2 separate regions of the Homo sapiens genome follow, and region 1 is linked to region 2. The links are contacts of gene promoters, found by promoter capture Hi-C in human tissues and cell types (Jung and others, 2019). All regions are on one chromosome and are shown on one strand. Each heading gives the region's core, a stretch centred on a gene start or on the middle of the fragment in contact. The rest is flanking DNA. Distances are from core to core; before and after follow the strand shown.

Region 1 (6,264 bases), core at 382-2,881, 130 kb after region 2:
ACTCCAACACCTCAGGCTGTCCTCTGGGAAGAGTGACCCAAGGGCCGATATCCACTAGGCCCTCCATGAGATTGGCAGCTTCCAGCATCTTAGGGTAGCCCCAGAAAGTTCCATAACACAGGGCCTGGAAAAGATACAGGGTGGGCTGAGGTCACATCACCCTGTAAAGGACATACTGAGAAGGCATCTGTGCCTAGGGGAGATAAAAGAGGCACAAAGGTTTGGTTTTTTTTACAGCAGTGTCAGGTGGTTATTCTCTTCTTCCTCACATGTGAAATGTTAAGGAAAACAAAATAAATCTGTTTAAAAAGAGCCATACATTGCTATCTGAAAACAAACGACAAAATTCTGTGTCTATTTGAAATATCGTCTTGCTGACAAAGGGTTCATAACGTTACTGGGAATTGAGGAGTGAAGTTAGCATATGGAAGGCTCTGGAAACCAAAAGATTTACTGTTAGCCCCAAGAGGAGTTAGGATGAAGGGACAGGTCTCAAAGACCCTGATGCCAATATCTTTGAAAGCCTCGGAGGAGAAATGGTCGCCCTTGGAAAGAAAGGACTGAAGAGCACAGAGACCACAGCTCCTCCCACACACAAACCCCACACACGAGTCTGGTTTGTGCCTAGTGACCCTCCCACCGTCACCGTGCAGCCTCCTCACCGGGCTCACAGGAACTGCGAGCCAGGCTGGAGGCGAGATTGCAGTTAGATATTAACCAGGTGCCCTCAGCCCCGCTGCTTCACAGGAAGCCGCCTCCCTGAGAGTCAGGTCACAGCAGACGCTGACCGCCGGCTTCCCCATTGGCCTGGGGATAAGATCTCTGAGAGTTGCTCAAGAGTCGTCTAAGTTCTTTCTCAGATCTTGAATTCCAGCGGAAAGGCTGGCGCCAAGCAGGCTGAAGACCCCACAAGGAAGCCCACTCAGCAGCAGAATGCGGTTTCTTCACCTCCAGTCCCAAGATTCACCCCTCACTTCTCCACCAACCAGCGACCCCACATCCCAACCACCCCCGTCCAGACCCCTAAACACCCCATCCTCAAACCTCTCACGGAGGCGGATCTAGGGTGTCCTCTCCTATTAAACCGTTTCTGCTGCAGCCCTCGGCGTCCGGGTGCAGTGACTTGGGCTGCGAACCTGTACTGGTTCCGCCGCACAATCTGGGGAGAAGCGGGGCTGAGGGCGCGGAGCTGCCCAGAGAGGGGCGCCGGGGCCGGGGCCGCAGTCGCAGCTCAGGGACGGGACAGGACGCCCGGGGTCCCGGCTGCCGGCCCAGCCCCACCCTGCGGCCAAACGGACCGAGGACCGAGGTGCGCAGGGGGCGCTCAGGTCCCAGACCCCAAAGACGCTGCGGCGAGGCCCGGGTCCCGCCACAGCCGGTTCCGACTGGTTCCGACCAGCCCTTCGCCCTGCCTCAGGACGCCGGGCCCCGCACACTCACCATTTCCCGGCTGTGCGGTGTCCCGGGTCCTCCCAACTCCCGTAGTCAGGGTAGGTCCCAGCGCGACAAAAGCCACCACAGATGTCCCAGGGCGTCTCTCAGTGACAGAATACGGAACAGAGGTCACCAGGGTGAAGAGGCCACTAGCTCCTGGAACGTCACACCCTCCTCTCTGCCTCGCGCCTGATTGACAATTCTCAGGAACCCGCCCACGACTTTGATTGGGTAGCCCTCCAGGTCCCGCCTCCTGGGCACTGAGTGACAGAAGAAGCGATCTCACAGTGCTGAGTGCAGCCGGATGAACAGGTTCCAGACCCGGCCCCTGGCAGGGCGGGCTTCCTCCCTGCGTTGTGACCCGACCCGTCCCGGGAAACGTTTGCCTTAAAGCGGAATTTCCTACCTGTACGCAGTGGGCCCTTTTTGCTTCTTCCTCCTGAACAATTGTGTGCAAGGAATCCCAGACTCACTGTCCAGTGGAGCCATCCCTTGGCCTCAGAGCAGGAGGGCAGCCGAGGCCACACAGGCCACACTGTAGCAGCGGGGGACAGGGGGTGGGTGGGTGGGGGGGTGGTGCTGATGTCCTCCAGGGACCAGGAATTTGGGATGAGGCTGTCGCCTGCAAGGTCAAGCCTTTCTTCCACTATAAGCGCTGGATGGGTTCTTTCTGCGCGCTACGCAAATAAAGACCACGGTATTGCAGTTAAAAAAAAAGTTTAATAAACACTAGGCCAGCTACGATACGTGAGAGACGGAGTTACTACTCAAATTATTCTCATCCAAGGTCCTCTGGTAGGGGTTTTTCAAGGGCAGTTTGGGAGAAAGGGTGGAGGTAGCTAGGCTTGCTACTGACTGGTTGGGGTGGGGATGAAATCACTGGGGATGGAATCTGTCCTCTTGGCAGTGCGTGGTGGCTCACCGCTGTAATCCCAATACTTTGGGAGGCCTAGGTGGGAGGATCGCTTGAGGCCAGTAGTTCAAGACCAGCCTGGACATAGAGTGAAACTCCGTCTCTATACTATAAGGGAGGAGACCACCCCTCATATTGTCTTATGCCCAATTTCTGCCTCCAAAGAAGAAGTAAAAACTAAAAGGCAGAAATGAAATCCACAGGCAGATAACCCGGCTTGTGCCCTGGGCTGGGTAGTTAAAAATCAACCTCTGACCTAACTGTGTTATCTATGATTCCAGACATTGTATGGAAAAGCACTGTGAAAATCCCTGTCCTGTTCTGTTCAGTTCTGGTTACCGGTGCATGCAGCCCCCAGTCACGTACCCACTGTTTGCTCCATCAATCACGACCCTCTCACGCGGACTCCTAGTTGTAAGCCCTTAAAAGGGACAAGAATTGCTCACTCGGGGAGCTCGGTTTTTGGAGACGTGAGTCCGCCGATGCTCCCAGCCCAGCTGAATAAAGCCCTTTCCTTCCACAACTCGGTGTCTGAGGGGTTCTTGTCTGCGGCTTGTACTGCTACATATTTAAAAAAGAAAAAAAGAGGCCGGGCCCGGTGGCTCACACCTGTAATCCCAGAACTTTGGGAGGCCCAGGCGGGCGGATCACCTGAGGTCGGGAGTTTGAGACCAGCCTGACCAACATGGAGAAAGCTCGTCTCTACTAAAAATACAAAATTAGCTGGGCGTGGTGGCACATGTCTGTAATCCCAGCTACCTGGGAGGCTAAGGCGGGAGAATCACTTGAACCCGGGAGGTGGAGGTTGCGGTGAGCTGAGATCGCGCCAAGCCGAGATCGTGCCTTTGCACTCCAGCCTGGGCAACAAGAGCGAAACTCCGTCTCAAAAAAAAACAAAAAAAAGACAAAAAAAAAAAAAACCTATCCTGTTATGCTGAATCACTTCTGGTTGGGGCCACAGGAGCAGAGTTGGCAGGTGCAGGTGGTGTCAGACATGCAAAAAAAAAACAAACAAACAAACAAAAACTGAAAATACGTCTACAAATGCTAATCTACAATAGTGGTGTTATCTGCAGAAATAGCTGGCAATCTATGTCTACACTTTAGCAGCATTCCGATTCCTTTCATCCCTCAGCCTGATGGCCATTCATTCGTTTTACAAAGGCAGTTGAGTTTTGGGGAAGGCTTATTATCATTTAAGCTATCTTCCAAAGTTAGCTGTGCCTAAGAGCCCAGGATTAAGGGAAAGAGAAGACAGAGGGTTGGCAGGGGCGGGGGGCGGGGCGGGGCAGAACGGGTGTTGGCTCAGATCTCTTCCACTGCCATAATTTTCTCACTGATATAATTTTTTTGCGATCTATTCATTTTCATCCCAGAAAATAAAAACACATCAACAATGAAATGAAATTGTTAAATGTGTGAAAAAACTGGAATTATAGGGCAGCATGGTTGTTTTTTTTTTGTTTTATTTTGTTGTTTTTGTTTTTGTTGTTGTTGTTTTTGAGATAGAGTCTCACTCTGTTGCCCAGGCTTGAGTGTAGTGGCGCGATCTCGGCCCACTGCAACCTCCGACTCCCAGGTTCAAGCGATTCTCCTGCCTCAGCCTCCCGAGTAGCTGAGACTACAGGTGCACACCACCATGCCCAGCTAATTTTTGTTTTTTTAGTAGAGATAGTGTTTCACCATGTTGGCCTGGCTGGTGTTGAACTCCTTACCTCAGGTTTATTTGCTTGCCTCTGCCTTCCAAAGTGCTGGGATTCCAGGCATGAGCCACCACACCTGGCCTGACAGCATGTATTCTATTAAAGGAATCAGAAGAGAAGAAAAGAAAAAATATCTCGTTCAGGGAAGTAAGCAGGAAACCCCCTTTCAGGAAGTTAAACAGATTCCCGAGCTTGAGAGCCAGACTCTTGACTCCTGAAATGGAGCCCCAGAGTGGATCAGCACCTGATGATGAGGGAGAGACATTGAAGGATTTAACTCTGGGAGCTCAACTTGCCCTCCTCTGCACAGTGTAGAAACACTCTTTCCTTCAAGACTTTAAATGTTAATGACTTAAAAGCTCCAATCGGAAGCCGAAACATTAGGGAATGAATTTGAAAACATGAGGGTTTCCCCATATTTCTATGAAGCAAAAGTAGAAAACCTAAAACCACCATGAACTGGAAGCTGGAACTAATGGCTAAAAAAGAAAGGAGTCAAACATCAGGTGTCATTCGATGAAATAAAATCTTTATTCAATTTGTAAAAATGGTAGTGTTTCCAGACAGGAAAAATGGGCATGTTTGGAAAATAAGGAAAAGAAATGATATCTGATTATAGCTAACAAATAAATGATACTCTTGCCTTCAAAAATCACACAAAGACACACACACACACACACACACACACAGAGAGAGAGAGAGAGAGAGAGAGAGAGAAAGAGAGATATCCTATCACCTAGCACTTTGGGAGGCCGAGGCAGGCGGATCACAAGTTCAGGAGTTGGAGATCAGCCTGGCCAGTATGGTGAAACTCCGTCTCTACTAAAAATACAAAAATTAGCTGGGCATGGTGGGGCGCGGTGGCTCACGCCTGTAATCCCAGCACTTTGGGAGGCCAAGGCGGGCAGATCACGAGGTCAGGAGATTGAGACCATCCTGGCCAACACGGGGAAACCCCATCTCTACTAAAAATACAAAAAAATTAGCCGGGCGTGGTGGCGGGCGCCTGTAGTCCCAGCTACTCGGGAGGCTGAGGCAGGAGAATGGCGTGAACCCAGGAAGCACAGCTTGCAGTGAGCTGAGATCATGCCACTGCACTCCAGCCTGGGTGACAGAGCGAGACTCCGTCTCAAAAAAAAAAAAAAAAAGAAATGCAGAGGATCAGGTCTTATCCATGACCTGCTTAATGAGAAGCTGGATTTGAAGGTCTGTAGTTTCCTGTGAAAGTTTGAGAAGTGCATCTGACAGTGATTAGTGATTCAGCCCAAAGGGTATTTCATACTCCTCACCGGTGAGATAATTGAATTCACAGAGTATCTGAGGTAGGGGAGATCCAGTGGGCTGTGAGGGGCTGGGGCTGGAACTGAAAGCAAAGACTGGCGAGACATCCCGAAGAAGACAATGTGGGCCGGGCGCGGTGGCTCACACCTGTAATCCCAGCACTTTGGAAGGCTGAGGTGGGTGGATCACAAGGTCAGGAGTTCGAGACCAGGCTGGCCAACATGGTGAAACCCCGTCTCTACTAAAAATACAAAAATTAGCTGGGCATGGTGGTGCGCACCTGTAGTCCCAGCTACTAGGGAGGCTGAGGCAGGAGAATCGCTTGTACCTGGGAGGTGGAGGTTGCACTCCAGCCTGGGTGACAGAGCGAGACTCCGTCTCAAAAAAAAAAAAAGAAAAGAAAAAAAAGAAGACAATGTGGATGAAAGCGAGGCCACTTTACCAACACTGGTATGGCCTGGCTCGCTGATCCTCACTATGGGAACGACCACTCATGATAACTGACCAGGAGTGTCTGTGGGCCATTGATCACCACACTCAGGCCCCAGAGCATGCGCACTCCAACCAATCCTCGCAACTTGGAATGAGAGAAAATAGGCACACAGAGAAGTGAGGAAATGGAGGCCCTGTTTGTTGAGCTGGGGAGGAATGGGATATGATGGAGGTGAAATGTTTCTGCTTTCCTTGAGGGCCAAAAGACATTATAGGCCATGTGAGACAGAGATGGGCCACACTGTTCAGTTTGGCAGGGATATTCAGTACCTGCCATACTGTCAGTGGAAAGTCACAACAAATACCAAAATGTCATCTTTCAAAGGATCCTTGCTTGCACAATTTTAAAACCAGGCCAGGGGTGGTGGCTCATGCCTGTAATCCCAGCACTTTGGGAGGCTGAGTCGGGTGGATCACCTGAGGTCAGGAGCTCCAGACCAG
Region 2 (6,756 bases), core at 3,616-6,115:
CTCCTGACCTCGTGATCCGTCCGCCTCGGCTTCCCAAAGTGCTGGGATTACAGGCGTGAGCCACCGCGCCCTGCGGGTTTATGAATTTAACAGTAAATTTAGCTTAAACTGACTCAAGTCGAGAGCTTCCTGTTGGTGAAAATGAAGGTCTTAAAGGAGAGAATAATTTCTAAACTGAGGAGGGGACAGAAGGGCATTTCAAACTCCCAGATAAATCCTTAATTTTCTCTGCCTCATCATCTGGGACTGACCCGCCCTGGGGGGCTCCATTTCAGCAGTCACAGTTTGGCTTCCAAGCTTGGAAATATCATTTACCTTCTGACAGAGGGTTTTCCTTGTGAACTGTGCATGAAGCAGGCTGCTTATCTGAACTACTTCAAATGTTTGCTTTACTTTTCTTTTGATTCCTTTATAAAATATTGCTGCCGGCTGGGCGCGGTGGCTCACGCCTGTAATCCCAGCACTTTGGGAGGCCGAGGCGGGCGGATCACGAAGTCAGGAGTTCGAGACCAGCCTGACCAACATGGTGAAACCCCGTCTCTACTAAAAATACAAAAATTAGCCGGGCGTGGTGGCACACGCCTGTAATCCCAGCTACTCAGGAGGCCGAGGCAGGAGAATCGCTTGAACCCGGGAGATGGAGGTTGCAGTGAACTGAGATTGTGCCACTGAACTCCAGCTGGGCGACAGAGCGAGACTCCGTTTCAAAAAAAAAAAAACATATATATATATATATATATATATATATATATATATATATACACACACACACTTATATATGTGTTTGTATATATACACATATATGTGTATATATACAAACACATATATAAGTATATATATACACATATATGTATATATATGTGTATATATATAGCTGCCATATAATTCCAGCTTTTCCATGCACTTAGTTTTATTCTGTTGTTGGCTTGTTGTTTTCTTGAGTGAAAATGAGTAGACTGAGAGATAAAGTATGAAAAATCTTTGGCTATCCCTCATCCCAAATTTATAATCTCTGACGACATCAGGCCTCTCTCCTCTTCCAGTGTTGGCCTGACTAGACCTCAAGGCAGACAACCTCCCCACCTCAAACCCCCTCCCCCCACCCCCACCTCCCCTGAAAGAAGGGCCCACTGAGTACAGGAAGACAACAGTGTCAGCTCTGGAAAGCCTGAAACATATTCTGAAATACCAGTATCCCCAGGGTGGGGGCCAGGCTGCAGTGCAAGGAGGAAATCCGGCTGTGGCTAGAATCTATATTTTTCTTTTCTTTTCTTTTCTTTTTTTTTTTTTTCGAGACAGGGTGTTACTCTGTCACCTAGGCTGGAGTGCAGTGCGCTGATCATAGCTAACTGCAGCCTCTACCTTCAAGGTTCAAGCAATCCTCTTTACTCAGCCTGCTAAGTAGCTGGGACTATAGTTGCAGGGCCACCAGGCTGGGCTAATTTTTTTTTTTTTTCTTTTTTTTTTAGAGATGAGGTCTCACTACGTTGCTCAAGCTGGTCTTGAACTCCTGGCCTCAAGCAGTTCTCCTTTCCAGCCCTCCCCGAGTCCTGGGATTGTATAGGTGTGAGCCACATGTCGGGCCTAGAACCTTTCATTCAAGCTCCACTCAGCCAGGTGTTAAATTCTCCTCTCACTCCGCCTCCCAGAAGGCGGGGCCCGTGGCACTGTCCAATCAGGAGGGGCGGGGGGGTGTGGCTGTGCAAATTGTCCAATCAGGCGCGGCTCTGGGAGGAGGCCGCGAAGCTCCATAAAACTGCGAGGCGTTCCTTTCACCCGCCCACAGTGGGTGTCAGGTCTATGCTGCTCTGAGAAGCACCAGAGGTGGCTTCGCTGCAGCTTCTTTCCAGCTGTGACTTGCAATGAACACGAAAGACATAAGGAGAACCATAGACACCTCAGAAGCCAGGAAATGGTGAGTGCTGGGGGGATGTCCCGAGACTGTGGAGCAAGGTGCTGGACAGGAACCTGCTGTGACGGGACCCAGGCCTGTCCGGGGCGACTTCGGGACCGGTGGACTGGAGTCCCCCTAGCGCAGCCACCGCGCCCGATTTAAGAGAGAATTTTCAATGGCTAAACTGCACATGTACATCTCCTGACACAGAGCACCTGGTGACAACCATCAACTGTGAAGGTCAGGGAGCTGCTGAAGCAGAAGAGAGTCCATATTTCATTAGTTTTTTTTTTTTTTTTTGGAGACGGAGTCTCGCTCTGTCGCCCAGGCTGGAGTGCAGTGGCGCGATCTCAACTCACTGCAACCTCTGCCTCTGGGGTTCAAGCAATTCTCCTGTCTCAGCCTCCCGAGTAGCTGGGACTACAGGCGCACACTGCCACGCCCAGCTAATTTTTTGTATTTTAGTAGAGACAGAGTTTCACCGTGTTGCTCTTGTTGCCCAGGCTGGAGTGCAATGGTGTGATCTCAGCTCACGGCAACTTCCGCCTCCCAGGTTCAAGCGATTCTCCTGCCTCAGCCTCCTGAGTAGCTGGGATTACAGGCACGCGCCACCACGCCTGGCTAATTTTGTACTTTTAGAGACGAGGTTTCTCCATGTTGGTCAGGCTGGTCTCGAACTCCTAACCTTAGGTGATCCGCCCGCCTCGCCCTCCCAAAGTGCTGAGATTACAGGCGTGAGCCACCGCGCCCGACCTTCATTAGTGGTTTTATATAACAGTTTGTTAATGTCGAAATAATAGTTTGCTGGCTTCTTCATTTTATCAAAGGAATAATTATTTGCCAGTTTTAAAATCCACTTAAAACTGTCTTGAAATTTTTCTCTTCTACTTTACGGTAAACACAGGAGGAAAGCAGGGACTCTGCTGGATTCTCTTTCGAACACTGGGATTGAGGGTGTTTGCCTCGTGGAACTGAACAATGTGGGTGAAAAGCAGGTGGAAAACTTGCAGGGGGCAGCATAGCCTGAGGCCGGTGATCCACACTGAGACTAATCTGGAGCCTGCAAAGGGAGGGAAAGGGAGCTCCCCCGATTGCTTCCTGGGCAGCCTGCCTTCCCCTGTAGGTAGTCTCCAGCTGCTCCGAACAGCTCCAGCTCCAGCTCCAGGAGTGTGGATTCTGAGAAGCTGCAGAGCCCTGGAAAGCAGGAACTTCACAGGCAAATGCACGTGCGGGTTTCTCTCCTTTCTGAGGTTGTACCTCTAGTTTCCCAAGGTAGTTTTCCGGAAAACTTTTTGTTTTTTGAGACGGAGTCTTGCTCTGTCACCCAGGCTGGAGTGCAGTGGCGCGATCTCGGCTCACTGGAACCTCTACCTCCCGGGTTCAAGCGATTCTTGTGCCTCAGCCTCCCCAGAAGCTGGGATTATAGGCGCCCGGCTAATTTTTGTAATTTTAGTAGAGACGGGGTTTCGCCATCTTGGCCAGGCTGGTTTTGAACTCCTGACCTCAAGTGATCCGCCCGCCTCGGCCTCTCAAAGTGTTGGGGATTACAGGCATGAACCACTGTGCCCGGCCTTGATTTTTCTATGTATAGAGTTGCTGCAGTCAGGCTGTAATTTGTATATATGAAGAAAATATGTAAAGATCATATTTAGAGACTCATTTAGGTAGCGTTCCAGAGAAATGGTTTATGAGCTAGAGAGGTTGGAATTTCAAGGGGCCTAAATTGACCACAGGTGAGAGTTTTCTGCTGGTGTAAATTATTAAGGTATTGAAGGAGGGAGCGTTCCCACATTGTGATGCTGTGACAGGAGGGCATGTTGAGCTCCCAGAGTTAAATCCTTAGGTTTCCTGCCTCATCATCAGGGTCTAATGTACTCTGTGGCTCCACTTCAGCAGTCACTGACTCTTAAGCTTGGGAATATGTTCTACCTTCTGAATTCATCTTTTCCTTTTTAAATGTTCTGAAGTGCCCTGCTTATCTGAGCTAGTTCAAATTTTCGCTTTACTTCCCTTTTGATTTCTTTACAGATTACGGAAATAGAACTTGTTTTTCCATGTATTTAATAATTTTATTCACTTGTTGGCAGTTTTTTATTTTCTTGGGTGAAAATGAGTAGATTGATTTGGGAGGCGAAAGTGGGAGGTTCACTTGAGGCTAGGAGTTCAAGACCAGCCTGGACAACAAACGAAATCCCGTCTCTACAAAAAATTAAAGAATTTGCCGGGCTTGGTGGCATGTACCTGTAGTCTCTACTACTCAGGGGACTGAAGCGGAAGGTTCGCTTGAACCCAGGAGATGGAGGCTGCAGTGAGCTATGATCATGCCATTGCACTCTAACCTGGGTGGCAGAGCTAGACCCTGTCTCAAATAAATAAATAAAGTAATAAATAAGTAAATAAAGTAATAAATAAGTAAATAAAGTAAAAAATAGAGAGAGATAAAGAGGTATGGTATGAGAAAGCCTTGGGCACGCTTCCCATATCCTCATCCCAAATTTCCGATCCCTGGGAATATCACGCCCTTTCTTCTGTTCCAGTCCTGCCTGGAACTCCCTGCGCACACCTGTGACTCCTCATGCAAGAGGTAGATGAAGAAATGACCCACTGAGTACAGGAAGTATCTCCTTTGGTAAACCCGGATTAAGTTCTGCTAAAATGCAAGTATCTCCCATCTCCCCATCCCCCGCAGACCAAGTACAGTGAAGGGGACGAGGGGAAGAAGTCCACCCTGCGTTTGAGGGCTGGGGCCAAGACCCCTCATTCCCGCTTCACTCATCTATGCTTCACATCTCCTGTCATTCACATCTGTCAAGATGCAGGGGGCAGAGCCCGAAGCTGTACCCAATCAGGGGCACCGGGGAGGAGCTCTGCGATCGGTCCAATCAGGCGCGCCGTCGGGGACGCAGCTGCAGACGTTCAACCTTCTCGCGGGATTTTCATTTCTCGCGTCTGCCGTACTTGGTTTCGCTTCGCTAGTCCCAGAGGCCCAGAGTGGCTCGCCTGGAGTCTCTGTGGCGCGGTTTCCTGTACCTGCCTTGGGATCCGGAGGGAGGAAGCTGGGACACCCGGGAGTCAGGAAATGGTGAGTGTGTCGGGCCCTGCGTCCCGAGACAGGGAGGAGGGGCTGGTTGGACGACCGGAACTGGCTGTGGCGCGGCCCGGGCCTTCCCGTGGGCGACTCTGGGTCTGCGTACCGAGTCCCTCTGGCGCAGCTCAGCCCTTGGTACCCTCGGCCTCAGGGTGGGGCTGGGCCGGCAGCCGGGACCCCGGGCGTCCTCGTCCCGCCCTGTGCCGCGATTGCGGCCCCGGCCCCGAAGACCCAAGTCTCTTCAGATTGTGCGGGGCCCACGCGAGGGTCATGGGGTGGGGGAAATCCTGACTTGTGCGTGGAAGGAGCTGTGGTGTATGAGGTTCCCAGTTCCTTTTCTCTCCACAGAGGACACCCGTTTTTCCCTGAGTTTTCTAAGTGTATGGGATGCAGGGTCCCAAATCCTCACTCTGTCCCCCAGCCTGCTGTTTCCAGGGCTTGCAGTAAATCCCCAAATTTCCTGTTCTCTTTTCGCTTTTCCAAACGCCAACCTCTCCCCTTCCATTCACGACATTAGCAACCGTTTCTCCTATATTCTACATTTCAGATATTGTGCTTTCATTGTTTATTTTTCAACAAAGCAATGGATTACTCTTTCATCAAGGTTTGTTTTCTGTTCATAGCCTTGACACTCCGCTGTAAGAAACCTTTGTGCTTGTCCTTTTGTCTCCTCTATGCACAGATACCTCATCAGAATGTCTTTGAGTTGAGGTTCCCCTTTGGAATCTTTACAGGGTGATATGCCTTCAGCGCCCCCTCCTATTTATTTTTTCCTGGTTCTGGGTTTCAAAACTGTCTGGGGCTGACTCAAGCTGCCCACAGCTGCCAAGTCTCTTGGAGGATCTAGTGAATATTGGGTCTTGGGTGAGTCTTCCTAGAGGACAGTTGAAATAGAAGGCTGGGAGAATGCCCTGGGACTAGGATAAATCTAGCATACCCTGCTTCTAAATAGCCAACCTCTGGGGGCACTCAGCTTTTCCTCCCCCAACCCCAGTTTCCATCCTTTGGAGACACACTGGTGGTCAGCCAATCAGATGCTGGTATTGAGGATTGAGAAAAGAAAATTTTTTGTGTGTTTTGAAAGAGTCTCGCTCTGTCGCCTAGGCTGGAGTGCAGTGACGTGATCTCGGCTCACTGCAACCTCCATCTTCTGGGTTCAAGCGATTCTCCTGCCTCAGCCTCCCCTGTAGTTGGGACCACAGTTTTGCGCCACCACTCCCAGATAACTTTTTTTTTTTTTTTTTTTTTTTGAGACGGAGTCTCTCTGTCGCCCAAGCTGGAGTGCAGTGGCGTGATGTCGGCTCACTGCAACCTCTGCCTCCCGGATTCAAGCGATTCTCCTGCCTCAGCCTCCCCAGTACCTGGGACTACAGGCGCATGCCACCACGCCCGGCTAATTTTTTGTGTTTTTAGTAGAGACGGAGTTTCACCTTGTTAGCCAGGATGGTCTTGATCTCCTGACCTCGCGATCCGCCTGCCTTGGCCTCCCAGAGTGCTGGGATTACAGGCGTAACTGTACCCGGCCTCAAAAAAATAATTTTCGTCTGATAAATGTGGGTCCTTTTAAATGAACGGGCACATAGAGACATTCAAGTGATACAGCAATCACCTTCTAACTCCCTGAAGCTATGAATTCATCTTTTGAAACTGCTATTGCCACAAGTAGGTATAATCAACTTACTAATGCAACACGGGACCCTGGAACCCACACCCTATAGCTTAACAGTGCATAGCCACGCGCTTATCAATGTTACTTCTGTAAATCAGTGAGAAT

The links. Contacts are between HindIII fragments. The study calls those that stand out against the background at their distance.
Region 1: a contact is called between the fragment with the promoter of ZNF44 here and the fragment with the promoter of ZNF136 in region 2, in 2 of the 25 tissues and cell types used here (IMR-90 fibroblasts and adrenal gland).

Annotation. Positions count from the first base shown.
Region 1 is chr19:12,293,252-12,299,515 of GRCh38, forward strand. It overlaps ZNF44 (zinc finger protein 44), which reads right to left and starts at 1,632. Exons shown (of 4, transcript NM_016264.4): 1 at 1,441-1,632. The coding sequence starts at 1,443. RefSeq lists a silencer at 1,187-1,416 and an enhancer at 1,967-2,016. The HindIII fragment of the contact is 22,646 bases long and covers 1-6,264 here.
Region 2 is chr19:12,158,231-12,164,986 of GRCh38, forward strand. ZNF136 (zinc finger protein 136) reads left to right here and starts at 4,866. Exons shown (of 4, transcript NM_003437.5): 1 at 4,866-4,976. The coding sequence starts at 4,974. RefSeq lists enhancers at 4,707-4,796, 4,807-4,966. The HindIII fragment of the contact is 18,447 bases long and covers 2,052-6,756 here.